2 separate regions of the Homo sapiens genome follow, and region 1 is linked to region 2. Evidence: promoter capture Hi-C in human tissues and cell types (Jung and others, 2019). All regions are on one chromosome and are shown on one strand. Each heading gives the region's core, a stretch centred on a gene start or on the middle of the fragment in contact. The rest is flanking DNA. Distances are from core to core; before and after follow the strand shown. Region 1 holds the start of MBD3L3 (methyl-CpG binding domain protein 3 like 3). Region 2 holds the start of TNFSF9 (TNF superfamily member 9).

The links. The method cuts DNA at HindIII sites, captures the fragments that hold promoters and counts their contacts. A contact is called where the count stands out against the background at its distance.
Region 1: the fragment with the promoter of MBD3L3 here is called in contact with the fragment with the promoter of TNFSF9 in region 2 in 1 of the 25 tissues and cell types used here (heart left ventricle).

What each region holds. Positions count from the first base shown.
Region 1 is chr19:7,056,960-7,061,251 of GRCh38, forward strand. MBD3L3 (methyl-CpG binding domain protein 3 like 3) reads right to left here and starts at 1,717. Exons shown (of 2, transcript NM_001164425.4): 1 at 1,602-1,717. The coding sequence starts at 1,646. The HindIII fragment of the contact is 21,543 bases long and covers 200-4,292 here.
Region 2 is chr19:6,529,385-6,533,655 of GRCh38, forward strand. It overlaps TNFSF9 (TNF superfamily member 9), which reads left to right and starts at 1,642. Exons shown (of 3, transcript NM_003811.4): 1 at 1,642-1,919; 2 at 3,402-3,432. The coding sequence starts at 1,653. RefSeq lists silencers at 1,470-1,699, 1,840-1,909 and enhancers at 2,320-2,419, 3,021-3,521, 3,522-4,022. The HindIII fragment of the contact is 13,420 bases long and covers 1,389-4,271 here.

The DNA of each region.
Region 1 (4,292 bases), core at 467-2,966, 530 kb after region 2:
GATCAGCTGTGGGGGGCTTCTCTCAGCTCAGTGGAATCTTCCCACCAGCCTCTCTTTCTGGGGAAATGTGTCTCAAATGGCAGTGTACATCCTCAGCCCCTGCAGGGCTTGCTAAAGTCAGATATGTGGACCTGAACCCAAGTAAGTCTGGGGTGGACCCTAGAGTCTGCATTTCTCCGTGTGACCCTGATGCTGCTGGCAGGAGCTCCAGGCATTGACACTGGGTCCTGGGACCTCATCGGGCTGATGCGAGTCAAGGACTAAATGCTCAAGGTCATGACCCAGGGTCAGTTCCAGACCTTGTCCCTCCTCATCCTCCTCAGAGGACACCCCTCTCTTCTCTTCCCTGCCACTGTCAGCTACACAGATGCTGGTGGTGCCTCCTAACCCATCCCCAACAGGACACCGGGATCCCAGACTTCCCTGTTCACCAAGACCTCACGCTTCTCTGTATCTCTTTCTGCTGTGCTTCAGGACACAACGTCATTTTCATAGCTCCTTGACTCTCTGGTTTCCAAAGAAATCCTGCACTCGCCACCTTAAATACTCACTGCCACACCCAGATCCCACCTTCACCTGAACACCTCCTGCTCATGAAGAAAAACCTCAGAAACACCATGTTGCTTTCTGTTTCTAATAAGCTCAATTAACTAGAGGTATACCATGAGAGAATCTTTTGATGACATACTGAGAAAGATGATCAAGCGCCTCCTAAGATTTGACGTCCTTTCTTGCTCTAACTCAATTGGAAGACTCTAGTCTCATAAAGCTGTTTCCCCCACAAACCTCATCAGTGCACTTTCCATTTTAAAGCCTTTGTTTCTGTCCTCCTCATTTCATTTTTCGTTGTCCTGGCATAAAGATTAATACTACCCCTTACAGTACCCCTGGCATAAAGATTAATACTGACCCAAGATGTTCCCCTTTGGAGGGAAAATTATTTAGTCCCCTTAGTTACGGGGCACTTATGATGTGCCAAGCTGTGCAGTAGAACCCCTGATCCAGAAGTAAACTTCATAAATCACCACTCTGTTGATTTTCATCTTGGTGAGAAGGAAGACATAATAAACGCACTAAAAACAAATTTCTGGTGGAATATCAGATATAAGTAAGTTCCATGATGAAGAAGAAGGGAGTGACAGAGAGGGATGGAAGGAGGAGAAACAGAGAAACAGAAAAGAAATTCACTACAATGAATCGTGACAGTGAGTTTAGGGAATAAGCAACTCATCATGAAATTTTACCAGAGAACTAATTTTTTTTGTTTTTTGTTTTTTTAAAAAAACGGACCAAGCAATTTCTGGTTCAGGAGCTTTCCAGAGAAGGAGACAATTTGAAGACTGCAAGGCCAAATCATACTTCTTCCCTTTCCTAGTGATGTTGGATTTTTAAAAAAAAATTCAAAGCTATTATCCCCATACAGTTTCATGGGCAAAAATGAGAATACTTTGAACATTATTCAACAGATATTACCACCTGAGGTATAACTTTCCACAACATCCAGTTTTAAGAACAACCCACTGCTAACTGTAAAGCTGTCTTACAGAAGGAAAAAGGACACATATGGACATTCCTGTAATCAATAAATATCCCGTACTCACCAGAACAGGTGGGCTCGGAAAAGAGGTGAACGCAGGCTCTCCCATAGCCGTAGAGTTTCTCTTGCTGACCCCACTCTTGAGATGCAGACAACCCTTGGCTTGCCGGAAAATGCAGTGACTTCTGCATCTGGTTCCCCTTTTTATAGAGAAAGCGAGTGATAATGCAATCAGTGGATAATCCACAGGGAACACCCTGTCTCCGCCCATTGGATTTGAGGCATTTCTAAATCTTTATACAGAAACCAATGTGGTGTTACCTACACAGAGTGTTAGTAGAGAAAGAATTGAATACGTGTGTATGTGTGTGTGGCGGGGTGGTATTTACAGTTAATATCAGCATTTTAGATATGTTTCCCTTTTTCTCCCAGTTTTCCAAACATCTTTGAATACTTTCTATAGAAATAGGAATGGAATTGTCTATGTACATAAATGTTCACGTAATATTTGATTTAATAACAACAACTAAAGACCATTTAAATGTTCTTTAAGAAAAGAAAGCCCAAAACTTTTATTCACAATCCTATAGAATATATCACACAGTTGTTGCAAAGAAATTACTACTTTGGCCGGGAGAGGTGGCTTACGCCTATAATCCCAGCACTTTGGGAGACCAAGGCAGGTAGATCACCTGAGGTCAAGAGTTCGAGACCAGCCTGGCCAACATGGTGAAACCCCATTTCTACTAAAAATACAAAACTTACCCTGGTGTGGTGGCATGCACCTGTAATCCCAGCTACTCGGGAGGCTGAGGCAGGAGAATCGCTTGAACCTGGGAGGGAGAGGTTGCGGTGAGCCGAGATCGCACCACTGCAGCTCAGCATGGGCGACAGAGTGAGACTCCATCTCAAAAAAAAAAAAAAAAAAAAGTTCTATTTCGTGCATTTACATTTAATATAATTACCAGTAAATTTGAAATTGTTTCAATCATCTCATTTTTCCTAGGTTTTGACTTAACTGACTCACGTTCCTTTTGCCTTTACTTGACTGACTTTGAATTAAATATGTTTATTATTTTATTGTTATCTCCATGAACTTGCTAGTTACAGCCATACAAATCTGTGTAGTTATGCTAATAATTAAATCATATACTCTGATACAATTAATTACTTTAACCCCTCCCACAAAATGCTAATACTTTAGAACACTTTTAATTCTCTTTTTAGCTGTTTCTGACTTTTGTATTACCATTCTCATGCATATTAATTCTACACATATTTTACTCTCCAGGAGACATTTCTAGTATTGCTTCATAAAGCAATATGCACTAATATTTACCTACAGCTTATCTTGTGCATTCATCTTTGTTCCTTTCTGCATTTCTAGCATTCAATCTGGGATTATTTCCCTGTGGACTTGAGAATTCATTCTAGTATTTTTCTTCTAATTCAATGCTGCTAACAACTAATTGTTTTCCTTTACACTTTTATTTAGGCATCTTTATTTGGGGGCAATATTGCTGTCAGGTACGGGTGTCTGGTTTGACAAATTTCTTTCAGCATATTAGAAATGGTGCCCCACTGATGTCTATCTCATTTTACCTGTGTTGAGATGTCAGCTGTCAGGCTTTTCCTTGCTTCTTTGGTTTCCACATTCTCTAAACTCTTTCTCGTTGTGGTTGGTTTGTAGGCCACAGTGTAGCTCATTATTGCTTCCTGTGTATTTCCTTTGCCTAGAGGGTGTGGAGTCAATTGCATCTGTGGGTTGATGTCTTTCATTGGTTTGGAAGGTGCATATGTATCCTTCACTTCTGATATCCATTCTTGTCCAAGTTCTCTCTACTCTTCTTTTAATCACATCCCACTTGTCTCTGAAGTTTCCAATGTTGTTCATGCTTTGGTGGGAATATTTGCTCTTGAACCTTGTTCCACTTTGCTAATCTACCTTTTTTCTAGGTTCAGTCTCATTTTAATTTTCCTTCCTTCCTTCCTTCCTTCCTTCCTTCCTTCCTTCCTTCCTGTCTTCCTTCCTTCCTGTCTTCCTTTCTTTTCTCTCTTTTCTTTCGAGATGGGGTCTCACTCTGTCACCCAGGCTGGAGAGCAGTGGCGGGATCTCAGCTCACTGCAACCTCTGCCTCCCGGGTTCAATGATTCTCCTGCTTCAGCCTCCCAAGTAGCTGGGACTACAGGCACATGCCACCACACCCAGCTTATTTTTGTATTTTTTGTCGAGACGGGGTTTCACCATGTTGGCCAGGGTGGTCTCGAACTACTGACCTCAAGTGATTCACCTGCCTTGGCCTCTCAAAGTGCTAGGATTACAGGCGTGAGCCACCGTGCCTGGCCTAATTTCTTATACTCTTAGTTTCAGTTCTAAGCATAAAACACAGTAAATAGCTTTAATTAAAAACTAGGTAGAAGAACAGCTTCACAGTCAATGAGGAGATAATCTGCCTTCTTGATACAATGAAACTCTAAATAGAAAGGAGAAAATTCAAATTTGAACCATATTAAGATACATTAAGAGCAACTATTCATTCAAATACATCAGTAAGAGAGAAAGCGTGGAAAACCGGAGTGGGGGAAGAGGTTTGGATCCTGTACCCCCAGGAAAGTACATCAAGCCAGAGTATATATATAAAAAAAATCTTAATATTTAAAAAAAAGAGAATAATGTCAAACAAACAGAGAAAAATAATGAAAACACACTTGAAACTGGGTGAAAAACTTGAATGGATCCTACACAAAAGAATAT
Region 2 (4,271 bases), core at 392-2,891:
GGGGTGCTGAGAGGAGGGGAAGGAGACAAAGAGAGACTAAAGAAGGAAAAGGAGAGAGACAGGGAGAGACAGAGAGTCAGAGAGAGACAGAGGGAATCAGAGACAGAGAGAAACAGGGAGAGAGACAGAAAGAGTGAGAGCCAGAGACATACAGAGACAGGGAGAGACACAGAGATGCATAAAGAGAGGGAGTCAGAGATGGAGAGAGACAGAGATAACGGAGCCAGAGATAGGGAGAGTCAGAGACAGAGAGAAAGAAACACACAGACTGACACAGATAAAAGAGCCAGAGACAGGGAGAGGCAGAGACAAAGAGAGATACAGAGACAGAGATAACAGAGCCAGAGACAGAGAGACAGAGACAGAGATAACAGAGCCAGAGACAGGGAGAGAGTGTCAGAGACAGAGACAGACACAGAGATAACAGAGCCAGAGATAGGGAGAGTCAGAGACAGAGAGAAAGAGACACAAGACAGACATAGATAAAAGAGCCAGAGACAGGGAGAGGCAGAGACAAAGAGAGATACAGAGACAGAGATAGCAGAGCCAGAGACAGGGAGAGAGTGTCAGAGACAGAGAGACAGACACAGAGATAACAGAGCCAGAGATAGGGAGAGTCAGAGACAGAGAGAAAGAGACAGACAGACATAGATAAAAGAGCCAGAGACAGGGAGAGAGACACAGAGACAGAGACATAGAGACAGAGATAACAGAGCCAGAGACAGAGTCAGAGACAGAGACAGAGAGAGCCAGACACAGAGACAGAGAGAGAGAGTCACAGCCAGAGACAGCGACAGAGATAACAGAAGCAGAGAGAGGGAGAAAGATAACAGAGCCAGAGACAGTCAGAGACAGAGATAGAGAGACAGAGATAACAGAGCCAGAGACAGATACAGAGACAGAGATAACGGAGCCAGAGATAGGGAGAGAGAGTCAGAGACAGAGAGAGATATATAGACAGAGATAACAGAGCCAGACATGGGGAGAGAGAGTCAGAGGCAGAGAGAGAGAAGACAGATAGAGAGACAGAGCCAGTGATAACAGAGCCAGAGACAGGGAGAGAGAGTCAGAGAGAGATACAATGAGAGACAGAGATAACAGCCAGAGACAGAGTTAGACAGAGAGATACAGAGACAGAGATAACAGAGCCAGAGACAGGGAGAGAGAATTAGAGACAGAGATAGAGAGAGACAGAGACAGAGATAATACAGGCACAGAGGCACGCATAGACATAAATTGGCAGAGAGAGAGAAAGATCTCTTTCCACCCACTGCAGAGGCAATCAACAGAGACAGAGAAAGACGTTAACGGGGAGACACAGAGAGCAAAGGAGACTGAGTCAGCAAGAGACCCACAGAGATACCGGGAAAGAGCGGCAGAGAGGGAGAACCAGGGCGATGGAGAGACAGCAGGGAGAAAGGAACCTGGAGCCGAGCTTGGAAGGCCGGAAACGGAAAGGAGAGCGAAAAGCGGAGAGAGATCCGAGTGGAGAAAATTCCGCAGAGTCACGGGGACGAGGGGAAAGGCTCTGGGCTGGGAAGGGGCGTGGCCGCGGGCGGAGGGGCGTGGCCGCGGGCGGAGGGGCGTGGCCTCCTTTTGTAGCCAAGCAGCTATAAAAAGCGGCGCGCTGTGTCTTCCCGCAGTCTCTCGTCATGGAATACGCCTCTGACGCTTCACTGGACCCCGAAGCCCCGTGGCCTCCCGCGCCCCGCGCTCGCGCCTGCCGCGTACTGCCTTGGGCCCTGGTCGCGGGGCTGCTGCTGCTGCTGCTGCTCGCTGCCGCCTGCGCCGTCTTCCTCGCCTGCCCCTGGGCCGTGTCCGGGGCTCGCGCCTCGCCCGGCTCCGCGGCCAGCCCGAGACTCCGCGAGGGTCCCGAGCTTTCGCCCGACGATCCCGCCGGCCTCTTGGACCTGCGGCAGGTGAGACGTGCCCCGACCCTCGGTAGCTGGTCTCGCGGGAGACCCCTACCGCCCCTCTGGGACTCCCTTCTCCCTCCCGCACCCCCAGGGACACCTGTTCTACACTCCCGGCCGGGGAGAGGAGACCCACCGGGGCTCCCATTCTCCATCTAGCACCGAGGCCGGGGGGGCACACCTTTCATCCCGCACCCCTACGACACCTCATCTGTACCCCAGGCCGGGGGCGGGGAGGAGACCGCCCAACAGTTCTTTTTGGACCCCCCAAGGGTCTCCTTCTTCTAGTCCGGGGGGCACCCCTTTCATCCTGCGCCCGCTACGAGACCCTATCTGTATCCCGGGAGGGGGAGAGGAGACCCCCACAAGTTCTTTTTGGACCTCCAAGGGCTCTCCTTCTCCGTCTTGCACGGGAGGGCACCCCTTTCATTCCGCATCCCGAGACCCCATCAGCACCCCAGGCCAGGAGGAGGAGACCCCCACAGTCCTCAACCCCTCAGGGATACGTCTTCTGCACCCCGGGTCGGAGAAAGGCTGGCTTCCCTCCATGTGGCAGTGGGTGGGGGCACCCCTCTTCATTCCGCATTCCCAAGGCACCCCATCTGCACCCTGGACGGGGGACCCTCCGCGGTTCTCCAACCCTCGACGGCTTCCTTTCTCTATGTAGGACTTAGGACATTGAGGGCACCTCTTTTTACCCCGCACCCCCACAAGCTCTGCATCTCTGGGGGGAACCTTTTTTCCATCCCCGATCCGAGGGGGGCACTTCCTCTTTATCTGGGACCGCCAAGGAGACCCCCAGTTCCTTTGCTAACTCCCAAAGAGCCTTATCCCCAACATCTGAGGTACCCCTCTCCCTTTCAAGACCCCCAGGGGAATACCCCCAAGGGGGCTGGAAAGAAGAGGGATCGCTTTTCCCTCCTGAATTCTTGGAGATCTGTCCTTGGGGCAGGTTGAGCCACCAGCTTCGTGTGTGTGTGTGTGTGTGTGTGTGTGTGTGTTCGTGTTTGTGTGGGTGTTTGTGTTCGTGTGTGTGTGTTCGTGTGGGGGTGCGTATGTGTGTGTGTTCGTGGGTGTGTTTGTGTTCGTGTGGGTGTGTGTTCGTGTGGGTGTTTGTGTTTGTTCGTTCGTGTGGGTGTTTGTGTTCATGTGGGTGTGTTTGGATATTTGTGTTCGTGTGTGTCTGTGTGTGTTCGTGTGGGTGTTTGTGTGTGTTTGTGTTTGCGTTCGTGTGTGTGTTCGTGTTTGTTCGTGTGTCTGTGTGTTAATGTGGGTGTTCGTGTGTGTGTTCGTTTGTGTTTGTGTTCGTGTGTTTGTGTGTTTGTGTGTGTGTGTGTGCGGTCTCTGTTCTTTAGTTGGGAGGGAAGGGAAGCGTAGGCTTCAGGTCGGCACAGACTCTGGGGACCCTGACAGCTGAAGTGAGTGGGGACAGAACCTCCATTTTCTAGGGGAACCCCCATCCACTTTCCTCCTTTCTACTTTTAACAGGGCATGTTTGCGCAGCTGGTGGCCCAAAATGGTAAGTATCCTCCGCCACTTCCGGTCCCTGGCCCCCCACCATCCCCACCCCGGGATACGAAGAAGGGGGAACCTGGAGAGTGAGGCTCTGCCGCACACTGGCTTTGACCCTTGACCGCTGCTGTCTCTGAAAGCTGCTACTTCCCCTCTTTGAACGCCACCGATCCCTCTTTCTGACTTGCTCTGACTCTCTGGATGCCATGGCCTCCCCATCAGACCCCCATCTGGGCCCACCTGGGACCCCTGCCCTCTCAGAGCTGGGGCTTGACACCCCCAACCCCCAGCCTGGTTTTGTGTCTCTGGCCTCCTTCTTTTCGAAACCCTCTTCCCCGCTGCTTTTCTTCCCTCTTTCCTGCCCCTTCCCCACTCTCCCAGCCTCTCTTCCCTACCTCTTCCCCTCGCCCAGAGCCTCCTCCTTACTCCCATTCTCTTCCCCATCCCCAGGCCCTCCTCCTGTCCCCTTCCCTCCCCCTAGACCCTCCTCCCTGCCCCTTCCCCAAACCCTCCCCAGCCCCATGCTCTCCCAGTTTCCAAGACACTCCTCCCAGCACCTTCCCTCCCCGTCCAGAGACTTCTTCCCCGCTCGAGACCTCTTCCCCCTTCCCCTCCCAGAGACCCCCTTCCCCCTTCCCCTCTCCATCTAGAGATCACTTCCCCCTTTCCCCTCCCCCTCCAGAAACCCCTTCCCCCTTCCCTCTCCCCTCCAGAGACCCCTTCCCCCTCCAAAGACCCCTTCCCCCTTCCTTCCCCCTCCAGAGACCCCTTTCCCCTTCCCTCCCCTTCCAGAGACCCCTTCCCCCTCCCCCTCCAAAGACCCCTTCCTCCTTCCCCTCCCTCTCC